Regions from separate parts of the Homo sapiens genome. Here region 1 is linked to region 2. The links are contacts of gene promoters, found by promoter capture Hi-C in blood cells and fetal thymus (Javierre and others, 2016). All regions are on one chromosome and are shown on one strand. Each heading gives the region's core, a stretch centred on a gene start or on the middle of the fragment in contact. The rest is flanking DNA. Distances are from core to core; before and after follow the strand shown.

Region 1 (6,728 bases), core at 1,016-3,515, 1.2 Mb before region 2:
CAAGCCCAGGGGATGCTCCATAGAGAGAGAGGTCATCCCGGGCATAAGGAAAACTCAGTGTCTGGGGGGCAAAGTCCAATGGGCACCGTGGAGTGAGAGGCGGCTCCAGCTTGAGGCCTGGAGAGGGTGCTGGGAGAGGGGCAGAGGGGTAGGGGTAAGCGTCCAGCCCCAGTGGGGGAATGTAAGGTGCCTGGGCTGCCTGCTGCCTCAGGTAGGGGCTGCCCAGCCCACCAGCCTGGTACCCGGTCCCCTTGTGGCCCCCCAGAGGCTGCAGTGGGAGTGCTGGGCTGTAGCTGCCCTGCTTCTCTGGGTGGCGACAGGCTGGAGGGCAAGGCAGGGCCTGTGGAGGGTGGGGTGGTGGGTGGTGGGGTGGTGGGTAGTGGGTGGGCCCGGTGTCCTGACAGGGTGGCCCCAGGGGCTGGGCCAGCTGGGTCCAAGGACTTGAGGGCCCCTCAGACATTGCTTGCTTGGAGTTCCTAGGGTAAGGACCTGTGTACCTGGAGGCCAGGAAGCCCGTGCTGTGGATGGTCTGATATTTCTCCAGGAAGGGCTGGCATGGGGAGAAGCTCCCTGAGGAGTCTTTACTGGACCCCTCAGCTGGCACCCCCCGCAAGAAGGTGCCATCCAGAGTCTGGCCCTTGCTAGGAGCTGGGGCCAGAGAGCAGGGTGGGTCAGCTGAGGGCAACAGGGGCCCAGTCGCCAGAGTCCAGTCAACATCCAGTGGCCTCTTCACTGCTCCTTCCCCCAGACAAGTTGAGAGCCCATAGCACAGAGGGTTGCGGTAGACAGGTTTGGGTGCTGCCAGTGGTGGGCCTGGGTAGGAGTGAGCCTGGGGACTGAAGGGCAGGAGCTCAACAGGGCTGGAGTCCTGCATCTTCTCAGGGCCTTCTGCTGGCGAGCGGTAGAACAGGCAGTTGGTCAGCAGGTTGTCTGCCTGAAGTGGGGGTCCTGCCATACCGGTAGAGTACAAGGGTGGGTATGGGGTCCAGGACGCCAACTGCTCAGACTCGGCCTTAGGAGTACCTGCCATGGGGCAGGAGAAGTAGGACCCCTTGTAGGTGCAGGGATCCTGGTTACCAACAGAGTGGGGCAGGCTGTGCTCGAGCCCGGAGTCTGTCTCTAAGCGGGGCAGCTTGCCATACATCACAGGCCCCAGGGTTCTCAGGGGTCGCTTCTCTGCCATCGCTGTGAAGGCTTCGAGCCCTCCTAGGCCCCTGCTACTCAACTTCTGACCTGGGATAGAGAGAGAAAGGCAGGGGCTGTCAGGAAAACAGGCTACAGGCAAAGCAACAGAGGGCTGCTGCTCTCATCAGCTCACGGCTACACCTAAGAACCTGGCGCTTAAATGATGCTCAGTTAAGACTGTGAGTGCATGAGCCACGTGACAGAGGTTTCCAACTCGTGTATGTATTTTTTGAGGCAGGGTCTCACTCTGTTGCCCGGGCTGGAGTGCAATGACATGAACTTGGCTCACCGCAGTCTCAACCTCCTGGGCTCAAGTGATTCTCCCAACTCCCAGGTTGCTGGGACCACAGGTGCCTGCTACCACACCCGGCTCATTTTAGTATTTTATGTAGAAACAGGGTCTTACTATGTTACCCAGGCTGGTCTTGAACTCCTGGACTCATGTGATCCTCCCATCTTGGCCTCCCAAAATGCTGAAATCACAGGCATGAACCACCTACTGCTCCTGACCCCAACTCGTATATTTTAAGCTGCAGAACCCTTTGTTTAATGAATTATTCTACACAGAACCCCCACCCATCCCCACTCCAGGAGCCCCTTCTGTTCGATTTTCCTCCATACAACTCCCAAGATCCCCTCCTTCTTGGGATTTCAGAATTTGTAGGGGCACTGGGTCTCAGGGTCACTTGACATACCCTGCCGCCACCCCCTCATATACAGATGAGGAGACCCATTCATCCCAAAGTCACCAATGAAATAGACACAACGAGAAGCAGGCCTCCTGCCTCCCACCACAGGGTCCTATTCCAAGATGCCACAGTGATGCCCACTGCAGCCAAAACATGGAATCTGAGTATTGTCTACAAATTCACAGATTTCTTGTGACACTCCTCTGACCTGCTGATCTTGTCAAAAATGGCAGAGTCGGGCCTCCAGCCCAGGTCCCTAGGCCCAAAGCCAATGCTGAGATACTGGACTTGGCTCTGGAGAGCAGTCCCCTAGGAGAGGTAACTGGGGACATCAGTCTGTACAAGCCACACCCCTCTCGCCCCACTCCTCCCCCTCCGCAGGAGTCAGGGCAGCCCAGCAGATGGTGCTGCAGCACCAGCAGGAAGGTCCCAGAGCATGAGGAGCCTGGATCCACCCCCAGCCCCCAAGCTGCAGATGGCGATTCCTAGGCACATGGCAGGGTGGGGCCAAGACAGCGTCAGGGGCGTGTGTGAAAGTCCAGGGAGGTGGCTAGGTGCTGTGGCTCACACCTGTAATCCCAGCACTTTGGGAAGCCGAGGTGTGCGGATCATTTGAGGTCAGGAGTTCAAGACCAACCTGACCAACATGGTGAAACGCTGTCTCTACTAAAAATACAAAAAAATTAGCCAGGCATGGTTGTGCATGCCTGTAATCCCAGCTACGCTGAAGGCTGAGGCAGGAGAATTGCGTGAACTCAGGAGGCAGAGGTTGCAGTGAGCCAAGATTGTGCTACTGCACTTCCAGCCTGGGCAGCAGAGTGAGACTCCACCTCAAAAAAACACAAAAAACAAAAAACAAAACAAAAAAAAAGAAAAGAAAAGAAAAGAAAAAAGTCCAGGGAGGGAGGCCCCAGGGGCCAGAGTGCTACTTAGCCACTACTCCCATTGTATTGATGGAAAAACTATGTGCTGAAAAAAGACAAAGCTCTAAGACAAGACCAAGGAAGGATGGGGACTGAGGCCCCTCAGGGCAGCAGGCACCCAGTAACCCGTTAGGGGCTCATCTGAAGCCTGTCTTCTGGGGCCACACTGACCTACCTCTACCTCCCCCAGCCAGCACCCTATTCCTGGAAACTCTCAGTAGCTTAGAAAGGACCACCTAGCTCAATCTTGCTATGATTAGGGCAAAGTGTCACAGGTTTCAGTGACTGGCAAGCAAGGACCAGCCCTCTCCTTGCCTCTTCTGGTTGGAGCCAATGACAGCCACAGGCTGAGTTAGACCGGCACATTTTGGGGTTAGAAAACACAAGGCTAGTGTGGGGGCCAATGCCCACTTCCACCAAGGCAGACCCAGAAAGCAAGCTGGTTCATCTCCTGGACAGAACCCCACACCTCAGGCCAGCCTAGAGAAGACACAGAGGGGCCATTAGGACACAGGTGACAGTCCCAACAGCAGTGTCCTATGATAGAAACCTGCTATCGAGGGGTGAAAGCCCCCATCTCACTCCACAGCAATGCTGTGAGAAGGAACTGTAGGGTTTTGAAGTGTGGATCCTCCCCACCTCCACCCTTGGGACACTCTGGGTTAAGTACTGACTTTGGTCTCACCTCCCCCACATGCTTCTTGGGGTCTGCTGGGTCCCCACCCCCACCCCAGGAGTCCCTCTCTCCTGGGTCTCAGCCCATGGAATACCCTTTGCTCTGGAGACTTCTTGAGGCCCCTATCTGGGACCCAGTCAATAGACAGGAAACCACCTGGGACCCTCAGGAGTCTTTGTGGGAGGGGTGGCGGCTTCAGGGAGCCAACAGAGAACTCTTAGGGGTGTGGGAATGACCTGATCTCCTGCCAGTAGGAGGTGGAAAGCCCAGGATACACTCTCTCAAGGGAGACGACTCCTCCACTCAAGACAGTTGCCAAAATGTAGGTGCCTCCTTCCCTGACCCATACTGAGGCAAGCAAGCTCTCGGAAAGGGCAGGTGCCCAGGGAGCAGGCTCAGATCATCCTTGAGAGGCAGCTCTGTTGATCCTCTCTGCCAAGCTCCAACGTCACTCAGCCAGCACCCAGGCCAGGGTCCCGGAGAAGAGCCCACCACCGCAGCACCGCCCCTGCCTTACGCAGTGGGAAAGGAAACAGCTCTCTGTTCCCACTTTCACCTTCTAGGGGCCTCGGGATGGCCGATGGCAAAGACCAGGAAGAAGAGCGCGATTCCTGCCCAATTGTGGCCAGCATCTGGATTCTCCCGGAGGGCTGGATCGGGCCTCGCCGAGTGTTCTCCCATCTCCCACCTTCCCTACCTGAGGCTCTGGGCTCTCCAGACGCTACAACCCAACCTGGGGCAGCCCAAAGTCTCCAGTGGAGGGGAAAGCGAACGGGATCGGTCTCTATCCCCTTTCCCCTACCCGCCCTGAACATAACTCGGGTGCCTAGGGCCCACAGCCGATTTCGCTTAGAGGCTGCCGCCGCACCCGACCTGGCGGGCTTCCGGGTGTCCCCAAGCCCCTCCCGGCGGCGCCGAGACGCACGTGCATCCAGCAGGCTGACACACAGGCCGCCGCCACGCATGCAAACCCGTGCCTGCACGTACGTGCATGGCCCACATCTGCACACACGCCATTCCAGAACTGCGCTCTCCCCTCGCTCGGGCCCCGGGCATACGTGTGCACGCAGGCAGGCCCGCGCACCCAGCCCCACACCGACGCCCGCGGACCGGCGGGAGGTCCCGGAACAGGGGCGGCCCGGCGACAGGGTCCGGGCAGCCTCCGCCTCAGGGCGATCCTGCCAGCCTGGGCTGAGGCCAGAGGGGTGAGTCAAGAGGTGGCGAGAAAACCGCAGGGCCGTCCCATCCCAGCAGGGCGCGTCCAGGGCCCCGCGGTGCCTCAGCGCCCGGCGCCCCCAGGCCCAGCCCTCCAGTGCCCCCTTGTCCCCATACCTCCTCCTCAACGCCATCCCCCAGCAATCCACGTGACAGGGTCCTGCGGGAGGCCGGAGGGCTCGGCCTGAGTTCCTTCTCGCCAGATTAGGCGCCTGTTCTCCGCCGGAGACCCAGAGCGCTACCAGGTCCCGGGAGCCTCGAAGTCCGGGGAAAGTCGGAGCAGCAGCGCCACCCCTGCCCCGCAGCCCGTTCGCGGGGGGCCGGCGGCAGCCAGAAGCCGCAGCCCCTCGGCCCAGGCGCGGCTCCCTCAGTCCCCGGGCCGGCCGGTAGGGGCGCCCTGGGGCAGCGCCACCCGCCCCTTCTCCACGCGCCGCCCGCAAACTCGGCCCAAGTTTCCGCGCCCGCCGAGCGGGCGAGCTCCTACCTGCAGAGCGCCAGGACTCCCGCCGCCGCTACCCCAGGCGGCCTCCGCGTCCGCATCCTCCAGCGTCTCTCAGGCCGCGGGTCCTAGTCCGACCGGGCCCTGCGCGGGAAGTCGCAGTGAGCACCAAGCCCGGAGCAACCCTCCTAGCTGCCGTTCGCGCCGCCGCTGGGCGCCGTCTGCGGTCCCGGGCGGGGCGGGCTGGGGGCGGGGCGGGGGCGGGGCGACTCGCAGGGTTGGGGAAGAGCCCGGCCCCGCCTCTGGGAGCCTGCGCTCCTGTGGGCAGCGGGTGCGGAGGGCCCGCGTGGGGCCAGCTCGCTAGGAGCGGGCTGCGGGCGCTGTGCACCGCCCGTAACCGCCACGCTCCACGAACCAGTGCCCGGCGGGCCCGTCACGCGCCCTCAGTCGCTCCCTTAGATCGTTCATTCACTGCCACTTGCTGCGATGTGACCTTGCGCCTGCCGCTTGACCTCGCTGAGCTTCAGTTTCCTTATTTGCAAAAGTGGAATTCTGTCTTCCTCATAGCGGTGGCGGTGTAAGCTTGGAAAAGGGTGTTTGCAAATATCTGGCACACAGTAGGTGCCGGCATTCCCCTGTCCAGCACTAGTGTATTAGGGGGCTGGAGAAGGGCTCCTTGATCTGTCCCCTCATTTCGTTGTAGTCAATGAGGGCAATTTCCAGACTCCTGCTAGGGCACGGCAACTGTCTGAGGAAGCGGCAATCTCCCCATCCCTGGAAGGGCCGGGAATGAGGGTGCTGGGGGATTTGCAAAGTAGCCTGGGTGAGGCTCCCTCCATGAGGCAGACCGGCGCGCAGCCTGTGAGGCGGGTGGAGTGGAGCACGCCCAGCCAGGAATGGTGTGTTGCAAAGAGAGGCTGGAGGGGGGAAGGGGTGCCTCTCCCTGGACCATCTGACTGTGGATGAGAGCCCCTCAGTGCTGCTACTTTATCTGAAGGAATCTGGTCCGTCAAAGCTCCTGGGCTGCCCGAGGACTGGGAACAGGTGTGTGCAGTGGGGAAGGGGAGGGCAGGTGGACATGCCAAAGGTCAGAGTCAGTTCAGGAAGCAAAACTATCCCCTCAGATCCCAAAGGTAAGTTCTGCCTGAGTCAGAGCAGAGCAGGCCTGAGGCTGCAGGTTCCAAGAATCACCAAGCAGCTGGAGCAGCTGGAGCTGAGGAGGAGGGGCTGGGCGCTGCAGGTAGGAAGAGGAAGTGAGGTCACCTGGGGAGCGGGGGCGGGAGGTGGGGGGAGAGTGTCACTTCATTTAGAGCTGGAAGGACCTTAGAAATAGAGTCGGGAACCATATAGGGAGAGACACTCAGAGAGGGTTGGGGCTTTCCCCAGGTCACTCAGCAGGCTGGGACAAAATCCCAGATCTCCTGGCTCCCAGCCTGGGGCCCTTCCTGCAGCCACACCTTAGCGTCAGGAAAATACATCTGCGCGCGGACAGCTAGGGGTCACACCAAACATCATACCCTTAACCCCAGCCTGCAGCCCCGTGGGTCACAGGCTATTCACTGCTCTTGCCCCTTACCAACTCTGCTCGCCCCTCCTCCTCC
Region 2 (7,690 bases), core at 4-2,503:
CAATCTGGCCAACATAGTGAAACCCCATCTCTACTAAAAATATAAAAAATAGCCAGGTATGGTGGCGTGGCCTGTAATCCCAGCTACTCGGGAGGCTGAGGCAGGAGAATGGCGTGAACCCGGAAGGAGGAGGTTGCAGTGAGCCGAGATCGCACCATTGCACTCCAGCCTGGGCGACAGTGTGAGACTCCGTCTCAAAAACAAACAGATAAACAAACAAACAAAAAACAAAGCAAAACAAACAAACAACAACAAAAAAAAACCAAAGTGCTTAATACAGTACCTGGCACATTTGAAGTGCTCATAAATGTTACCTAGTATTGTTAAGTAATGTTATTCTTAGTTGTAATAATGTTTATAAAAGTTACTGTAATACGGTGTCCTCTGTACTTTCATGAAGGGGAGTAAAAGGGCCTGAAAGGCAGCAGAGCAAGAAACCCAAGTAGTTCCTTTGTCGGGGGAGGTGGGAGGTGGGCAGGAAAGGTGTGGCAAGAGAAGGGTTCGTTGGGGAGGCTTCCTTAAGCAGAAACCACATGAGCTGGGAGGCCTTGGCAAAGATACCTCTTCAGTCTGAGCCAGTTTCTCACCTCGGATCTGGGAAGTTGGTTTTAGTTTTGCCGTGCCTGGGACATGCCCCTGGCTCCAGGCCAGCGCAACAGGGGTACTACCTCCATCCTCCCTAATCTGAAGTCCTGCATCTGAGGCAAAGTTGAGGCAGGGCTCGAGGGTGGGCGGAAGGGCCCAGGCCCGGAGGCCACTGACCCTTCTCACCTTGCCCAACTGCTCAGTGGAGAAACCGCAGCCCAGCGAGGCCGCCCCAACTCCTCCGTGTCCTCTTTTCTACTCTATCCTACCCTCCCTTCCCTGCCCCACCCGAGACGGTCAGGACCCTGGTGTCTGGACTTCCCGCTTTGTGTCACTCTCTAGGGTACTTGACCAAATCCTCCGTTAGACCCTCTCTTCCCGCCTCTCCCCACCACAGCAAACCAACAAAGCTTAACCCCATCATCCCCTAACCCAATAGTACCTCTGTAGGGCTGGGGCTGGGGCTGGGCTGGCGGCCTTCAGAGGGGGTCTCGGGGGGAGGCATGGTGGGCTCCTGGGGCCGGGCGGGGTCCTGCTGGGGCCTCGGAGATCGGGCGGGTGCAGGCTCCATGGACCCCAGCTTAGTTTCGATTCTCGGTTTAGATCTTGGAGTGCGTGAAGAGAAGCTGAAGGGGAGGCGTGAGCCAGTTGGCTGAGTCCCTTGAGCTGTCCGAAAGGGGAGGTGCCGGCTCAGGGCCCGCCTCTGGAGAGGAAGTGAGACAGAAGCTGGGGGCGGTTCTAGGGGGCAGAGAGGCCGACTGTGGGTTTTAAAGACACGCCCAGAGCGGGGAGGAGGTAGAGGCGGAGAGCTGCAGACCTACCGCTGACTTACGGTAAAGCGGGAGAGGTAGGGCAGAGCTGCAGGGGGGCAGCCCTGCTCCCGGCTTTGATCCATTCATCCGTTCACACTGGCACTGCTTCGTGCCACGTCCTGCCGGGAGCTGGGCGTACAAAGATGAGCCACACGCAGCCCCTGCTTTCTAAGAGCCGTAGATGTAATGGAAGAGCAAGCCTGCAAACGGAGACATTCTGGAAAGGAGAGCCCACAGCTGGGACCTGCAAAAGCAGTGGAAATTCACCAGGGATTTAGGGTTGTAGGTGGTGGGGTACGGGGGACACTTGAAACAGAAAAGATAGCTCTTGCAAAAGCCTGTTTGGGAACTAATTTTGGCCATTTTCAGATTTAAGAGGGAATTCATGAGAAATGATACCCAAGGAGTGTGCTAGGACAAGATCCTAGCTGAGGAGATTGAACCAGTTCTGTGAGTGATGGGAAGTTGCTGAAGGATTTGGAACCAGGGAACAACACGATCAGCTGTGCATGATGGGACAGTCACTCTGACAACCTAGGAGCAGGTGCCCTGGTCTAGGACAGTGGCTGTGGGATGCAGAGGAGGGACTTGATTCAGAGATCCTGGGAAGCCAGTGACTGGAGGTGAGGGAGCAGGATGATGCCTTGAGTGACAGCTGGAAAGGCTGGTGGATCTGAGGTGGTGGGGGCAGGAGGGAGGGGGAGAGCTGGAGAGCGGGTATGAAGAGGGTGAGGGGAGAGCCAGCTAGGTCTTCGCCAATGGAAAAGCATGTCAGACTCCCAGCTGGTAAGGGGAAAGGGGCACAGTTCCAGGTGACCTCACTGGGTCAGCGCCCCGGCTTCAAACTTAAACCATCGCAACCACTGTGCTGGCTCCTGTGTACCCATTCCGTACTCTGTTCCAACTTAGAAACAGACTAGAAAGGATGATGATAGGGCCTGGCTCTTGTAAACCTTACAGTCTGCAGGGTGGAGAGCAGGGGTTGGGCAGATACGCAACTTCCTAGGGACTGTAAGGCCTCAGGAGCCTGCCCTTCCCTCCAGCCTGGTCAGTACTCCCAGGCCTTTAGAGAATCAGTCCATGAAAGCCAAATATGGTGGGCAGCCATCTGCACAAGGGACCTGGAAGTGGGCTATGGCAGGATGGGGCTTCGGAGGCCAGAGGCGATTGGCTGAGGAGGCAGAGCTGGGGAAGCTTTATTCATTTCTTTGCTTGCTTTGGAAGATAGCCTGCTCCCAGACTACCCCAAAGTCCTGTTGGAAGTTAACACTTCTCAAAGGAAATTCACGAGTTGCATTCAGGTTTTCTCAAGCCCTGGAGAGGCAAGTTAATTCCAGGTACCTGGATCAAGGGGCATGCTCTTTCTGGACCTGCAGGACTGAGGGCCTCACCTCTGTGGTGCTCTGGGGCCCCTGCCCTCATGTAGCTCTGTGCTATCCCCTTCTTCCTTACACTCCCATGCTCCCCGAAGTCTGCATGTGAAACTTCTTTCTTTTTGTGCCAAAGTTCAGGCCTTCCTACTCCACCTTGATCACGGTGACCTGGCCAGGCCATTACTTAACAAATAAGTATTGAGACCTGCCCTATGCCAGTCCCTGCTTGCTGGGCTGTGGGTTCACAAAGAGGAATAATTTGCAGACTATGTCCCAGAGAAACCCAAAGTCCAGATATGGCATGTCCTGCCTCCAGTGTGAGAGAAGGAGTGCTGAGAAGGCTGATATAGCATGTCCTTGATCCTGGAGAAGATTGGCTTCCTGTAAACCCTGATGAGATCTTGCTCTCTCGCTCCGACTGCAGTGCAGTGGCACGATCATAGCTCACTGCAGCCTCAAACTCCTGGACTCAAGAGATCCTCCCGCCTCAGCCTCCCAAGTGGCTGGGACCACAGGCAGGCATCCCACGCCAGGCTAATTTTTAAAAATTTTTTGTAGAGATGGGCTCTCACTATGTTGCTCAGGATGGTCCTGAATTCCTGGCCTCAAGCGATCCTCCTGCCTGAGTCTCCCAAATTGATGGATTATAGGAGTGAGCCACCGTGCCCAGCTTCCCCTCCAGCTTTTCTAGGGCTGAGTAGGAGAAGAGGGGAGGAGGCGATGACCCCAGCGGGGTCCGAGGAACGCCGATCACACCCAGTAGCCCTGGGCTGCAGTTCGGTCCTCCCAGCGCAGGGGGAGCCATGCGACGGCGGAAGCGGGCCCCGGCCGGCCTCCTCTTCCTGCGCCCGCGCCGCCGCGGGTGGCCGCGCGGGTGAAGCCGGAAGCAGCAGCCAGGAGGGCGGGGCCGCGTAGGGCCCACTGGCCAGGGAGGGCGCCGCGCGGAGGCGCGGGGCGTGTCTCCTGTCAAAAGCCATGCTCGGCAGGTCTGGGTACCGGGCGCTGCCCCTGGGTGATTTTGACCGCTTCCAGCAGTCGAGCTTCGGCTTTCTGGGCTCGCAGAAGGGCTGCTTGTCCCCGGAGCGGGGCGGCGTGGGGACAGGGGCCGGTGAGTGGCCGCCTGGCACGGCGGAGCCGGGGGGGACCGGCCGGCAACCCCCAGGCCCGAATCTCTGCCTCCGAGGAGTCGGCCGGCCCGGTGCCGTCGCACCCTACGAGGGGGGACTGAGAAAGGGATACGATGTGGAGAGGGGGCTGGACCCGGCGCCTGGTGCTAGCGCCGATCCGCCCTCCCTAGGGTCATGGGGCTTTGGCCCCAGAGCCAGCCAGCGTTGCTCCTATCTTCCAAAACCTCACCTCACCACATTTGTCCTCGGCTCTTATCAGCCCTTTAGGCCTGGGAAGACGTTTCAGGTTTCTATTTCGCATAGAAGAAACCGAGGTCTAGGCAGAGGAGGCCACCAGCACCCTAAAGGCACCTGCTGCAGGGAAATGGAAGAATTTTCGCCCTAGGGGGCACCTCTAGAAGCCCGGGAACTAGGCATCTCCTGGATGTGCAGGCCAAAATGACAGGTCCTCAGCTGCCTGTTGGATCTGCCCTGCTTCTGTCTTGCCCTCAAAGTCTTCTGTGGCTCCTTTGGCCTACAGGCCAGATCCCACGCTGTTCAGCCTAACCGCCTAACCTTGGATTTGATCCCTCCCTGGCCTTCCTGTCCTGAAAGCTCTCCCTATCCAGAAGTCTCTTGAGAGGCCTGGTGGATCAGAGCCAGGCACAAAGTGGAGCCTCAGTGCTCTGGGGCTTAGCCCAGAGGGCAGGGCTTCCTGGAAGAATGGAGCAGGGCTCCCGACTGCTTCCTGTCCAGGGTTGGGAGGAAAGCGGCAAATAACCTCATCCCAGATTCTGGAGCTGTCTCGGCTTTGCTCCCAACTTGGGCTCCTGAATCTCCAGGGGCCAGGACATTTGGCTTGGATAAGCCTCATCTTTCTAGCCCTGCCCCTGACCCCGACCCCTAACAATTTTCTTGAATTGAAATAGGCAGGGTTTTTTTTTGTTTTTGTTTTTTGTTGTTTGTTGTTTTTTTGAGATGGAGTCTCGCTCTGTCCCCCAGGCTGGAGTGCAGTGGCGCCATCTCGTGAAATAGGCATTTTTTAATGGTCATTAAGGCATTAAAGTTGGGTGTGGAATAGAAAATAATAATCTAATTCCTCATCTGTGGCTCCCGTTGATAAGCTATTTATGATTTATCCCTGTAGGCTAAGGCATCATCTTCATAAGGACTCCTGGAAAGCACACTTCTGGGGCTGATGGTATAGGAGGAATGTGTTTTGCCAGCAGTATTCAGTGCATGTTTACAGATGCCCAGGTGCTCCTGGCTCCATGCCAGGTATGGGTAGGCAATATAAATTAAACGAGAGGATTGACCCCTACTCAGTCCAGTGAGGAGAGCATCATCACGCGGACTGGATTCTGAGATTGAATGGCTGTTGCCTAGCAGAGAATAAGGCCTTGTGAGGGTTGTTGGACTTGGGACAAATGAGTGTTGATGTATGGGAGGAGGGAACAGACCCTAACTTGCAGCTGCCCAAAGATACGGGAATATTAGGCAAGGAGCCAGATTGAGAGCCCTGAGAAGGAAGGAGCCTCTCGAGGGGAAGGTGGGCGTAAGGTACACTTGCCCAAGTTCACTCCGCTTGGCAGCTGTCGTGCAGGTCCAGTTGACCACCTCTGCTCTCACCTGCAGATGTACCCCAGAGCTGGCCCTCCTGCCTCTGTCATGGCCTCATCAGTTTCCTGGGGTTCTTGCTGCTGTTGGTCACCTTCCCCATTTCTGGCTGGTTTGCCCTGAAGGTAAGGCTGGCTGGGTCAGCCCCCAGGGTGGTTGGGCCACACTGAGAGCTTTGGCATTGATGAATAAATTTGCCTATCCTCTGTCCCCTTTCCCTAAATATTATTACCCCTTTGTGTAATGGGCTAGGCAAGAACCATTCATTCACATTGGTCAGGGGAGGAAACTAAGGCTTGGGCTTGTCTAAAGTCATACTGGGAGCCAGTAGGGGGTAGAAGCAAGTCCCAAACTCCTAAGTCCTGGGATCTGGACACTGGCTTTAAGGTACACGCAGATGTCTTTGCCAAATTATCTTCTCTTTGGGTTAGAATAAATTAGAAATGAAAACACCCAACTTAGCCCAGCTGGTAGTGCATAATAGGAATTCAGGCCTCATTTTCCATAAGGGGTGGTACAGTGGGAAAAGGATGAACCATGGAGCTATAGTTCAGCATCGCACGTGAAAGCTGGGGGAAGGTGGAAGCCCAAGGAGGCCTTGCCCTTTGTGTAGCCCTAGGCAACAGTCCCTCTCTAGAAAACCTCTGGGTTTGGTGTGGTCTGCAAGGGGGTCCTTAAATGGCCTTATATCCTAGTTCTAAAACTGCCACAGAAACAAATGCCATGTGACCTTGAACAGGTTTCTTTGCCTCTCTGGGCCTTCATTTCTCAATTTGGACATCACTACTTCTCTAGGAGGTCCAGGGACCTAAAGTTGACAAAGCCCTTTCCCCGGGGGTGCTGTTAGGGCAGCCGAGCCTTTTCTCCTAACTAATCCAAGGACAGACAGTTTCCTGGTATGAGTCATGTCTAACTTCAGACCACAGAGATGAAAAGTTTCTCTAAGGATCAAGTCAATACAGTGCAGTAGTTAAGACACATGGCCTTTGGAGTTATTCAGAACTGCATTCAAATCTTCACTATTTCACTTAGGGCTATGCAATTTTTGAGCAGTCACTTAGCTTCCCTGAGCCTTGGTTTTCTCATCTGGAAACAGTGCTAGGGATACCTAACTGTGACCCAGGTGAGGAGGAGAGAAGTGAGGAAGGGACCTAGGCAGACAGCATTGGCCAGCCTAGGCTGACCACTTTCAACTCTTTCCCTTGCCATTGTGGACAGATTGTGCCCACCTACGAGCGGATGATTGTGTTCCGCCTGGGCCGGATCCGCACCCCCCAGGGACCTGGCATGGTTCTGCTCTTGCCCTTCATTGACTCCTTTCAGAGGGTGGATCTGAGGACACGAGCCTTCAACGTCCCTCCCTGCAAGGTGAGGGGCTTCTCAGCTGCCTTGACAGAGGAACTGGGGGCCTGTCCAGAATGTACTGTGGTGCCAGGACCTCAGCCTGTGAGTCACCATCTGAGGGGGGAAGGGGGAAGAAGAGACCAGAAAATTGATGGAAGCTAGGAGGACATCCTTGCTTCATACACCTAACCCTACATACTTGGTGACACCATTTGCCCTTGAGGAGCTAGCTGCCAAGCAGGTGGTTCAAGCTGGGTGGCCCCAGTGGGCCTGACCTCCCTGCACCCCCAGCCCCTTGAGTGTCTCTCTCTCATGGCCTCCCCCAACAGCTGGCCTCTAAGGACGGGGCTGTGCTGTCCGTGGGAGCCGATGTCCAGTTTCGCATCTGGGACCCGGTGCTGTCGGTGATGACTGTGAAAGACCTGAACACAGCCACACGCATGACAGCCCAGAACGCCATGACCAAGGCCCTGCTCAAGAGGCCGCTGCGGGAGATCCAGATGGAGAAGCTCAAGATCAGCGACCAGCTTCTGGTAGGCAGCCCCTCACAAGACGGAGCTTGAGGGGTGGCACCGGCCTGGCTCCACCTGCCAGGTCACTTTGAGAAAAGAGTCAGACCACTCTGGGCCTCAGTTTACCATATGTCCCAATAGTGTAACCACCTTTGAAGAGCCAGTGCCTGGGTGGGGCCATGAGTTGAGGAATGGCAGGTGGGCGTAGACCATAACGATCCTGGGCAAACTTGTCCCTGAGAAGAGGAAGTGGCCCCGGCAGACATTCTTGGGGTCTGCCCCTTAGTTTTTACCCCTCACTGCTCTGCCATGATGACACTGGCTTCTACAGCTCTCATTCC

The links. Contacts are between HindIII fragments. The CHiCAGO score rates a contact against its expected background, and 5 or more counts as called.
Region 1: a contact is called between a fragment that was not itself captured here and the fragment with the promoter of PML in region 2, in 1 of 17 cell types (total CD4 T cells). The highest score is 7.2, in total CD4 T cells.

The regions. Positions count from the first base shown.
Region 1 is chr15:75,200,504-75,207,231 of GRCh38, reverse strand. It overlaps C15orf39 (chromosome 15 open reading frame 39), which reads right to left and starts at 5,350. Exons shown (of 3, transcript NM_015492.5): 1 at 5,173-5,350; 2 at 1-1,233. The coding sequence starts at 1,183. RefSeq lists silencers at 4,214-4,263, 4,384-5,543 and an enhancer at 5,025-5,747. The HindIII fragment of the contact is 6,893 bases long and covers 1-5,711 here.
Region 2 is chr15:73,988,279-73,995,968 of GRCh38, reverse strand. PML (PML nuclear body scaffold) reads right to left here and starts at 1,253. Exons shown (of 9, transcript NM_033238.3): 1 at 1,028-1,253. The coding sequence starts at 1,156. STOML1 (stomatin like 1) reads left to right here and starts at 3,674. Exons shown (of 7, transcript NM_004809.5): 1 at 3,674-3,878; 2 at 5,512-5,618; 3 at 6,712-6,861; 4 at 7,167-7,370. The coding sequence starts at 3,746. RefSeq lists enhancers at 671-840, 4,138-4,207, 4,268-4,397, 7,464-7,523, 6,807-7,690 and a silencer at 3,448-4,007. The HindIII fragment of the contact is 1,596 bases long and covers 998-2,593 here.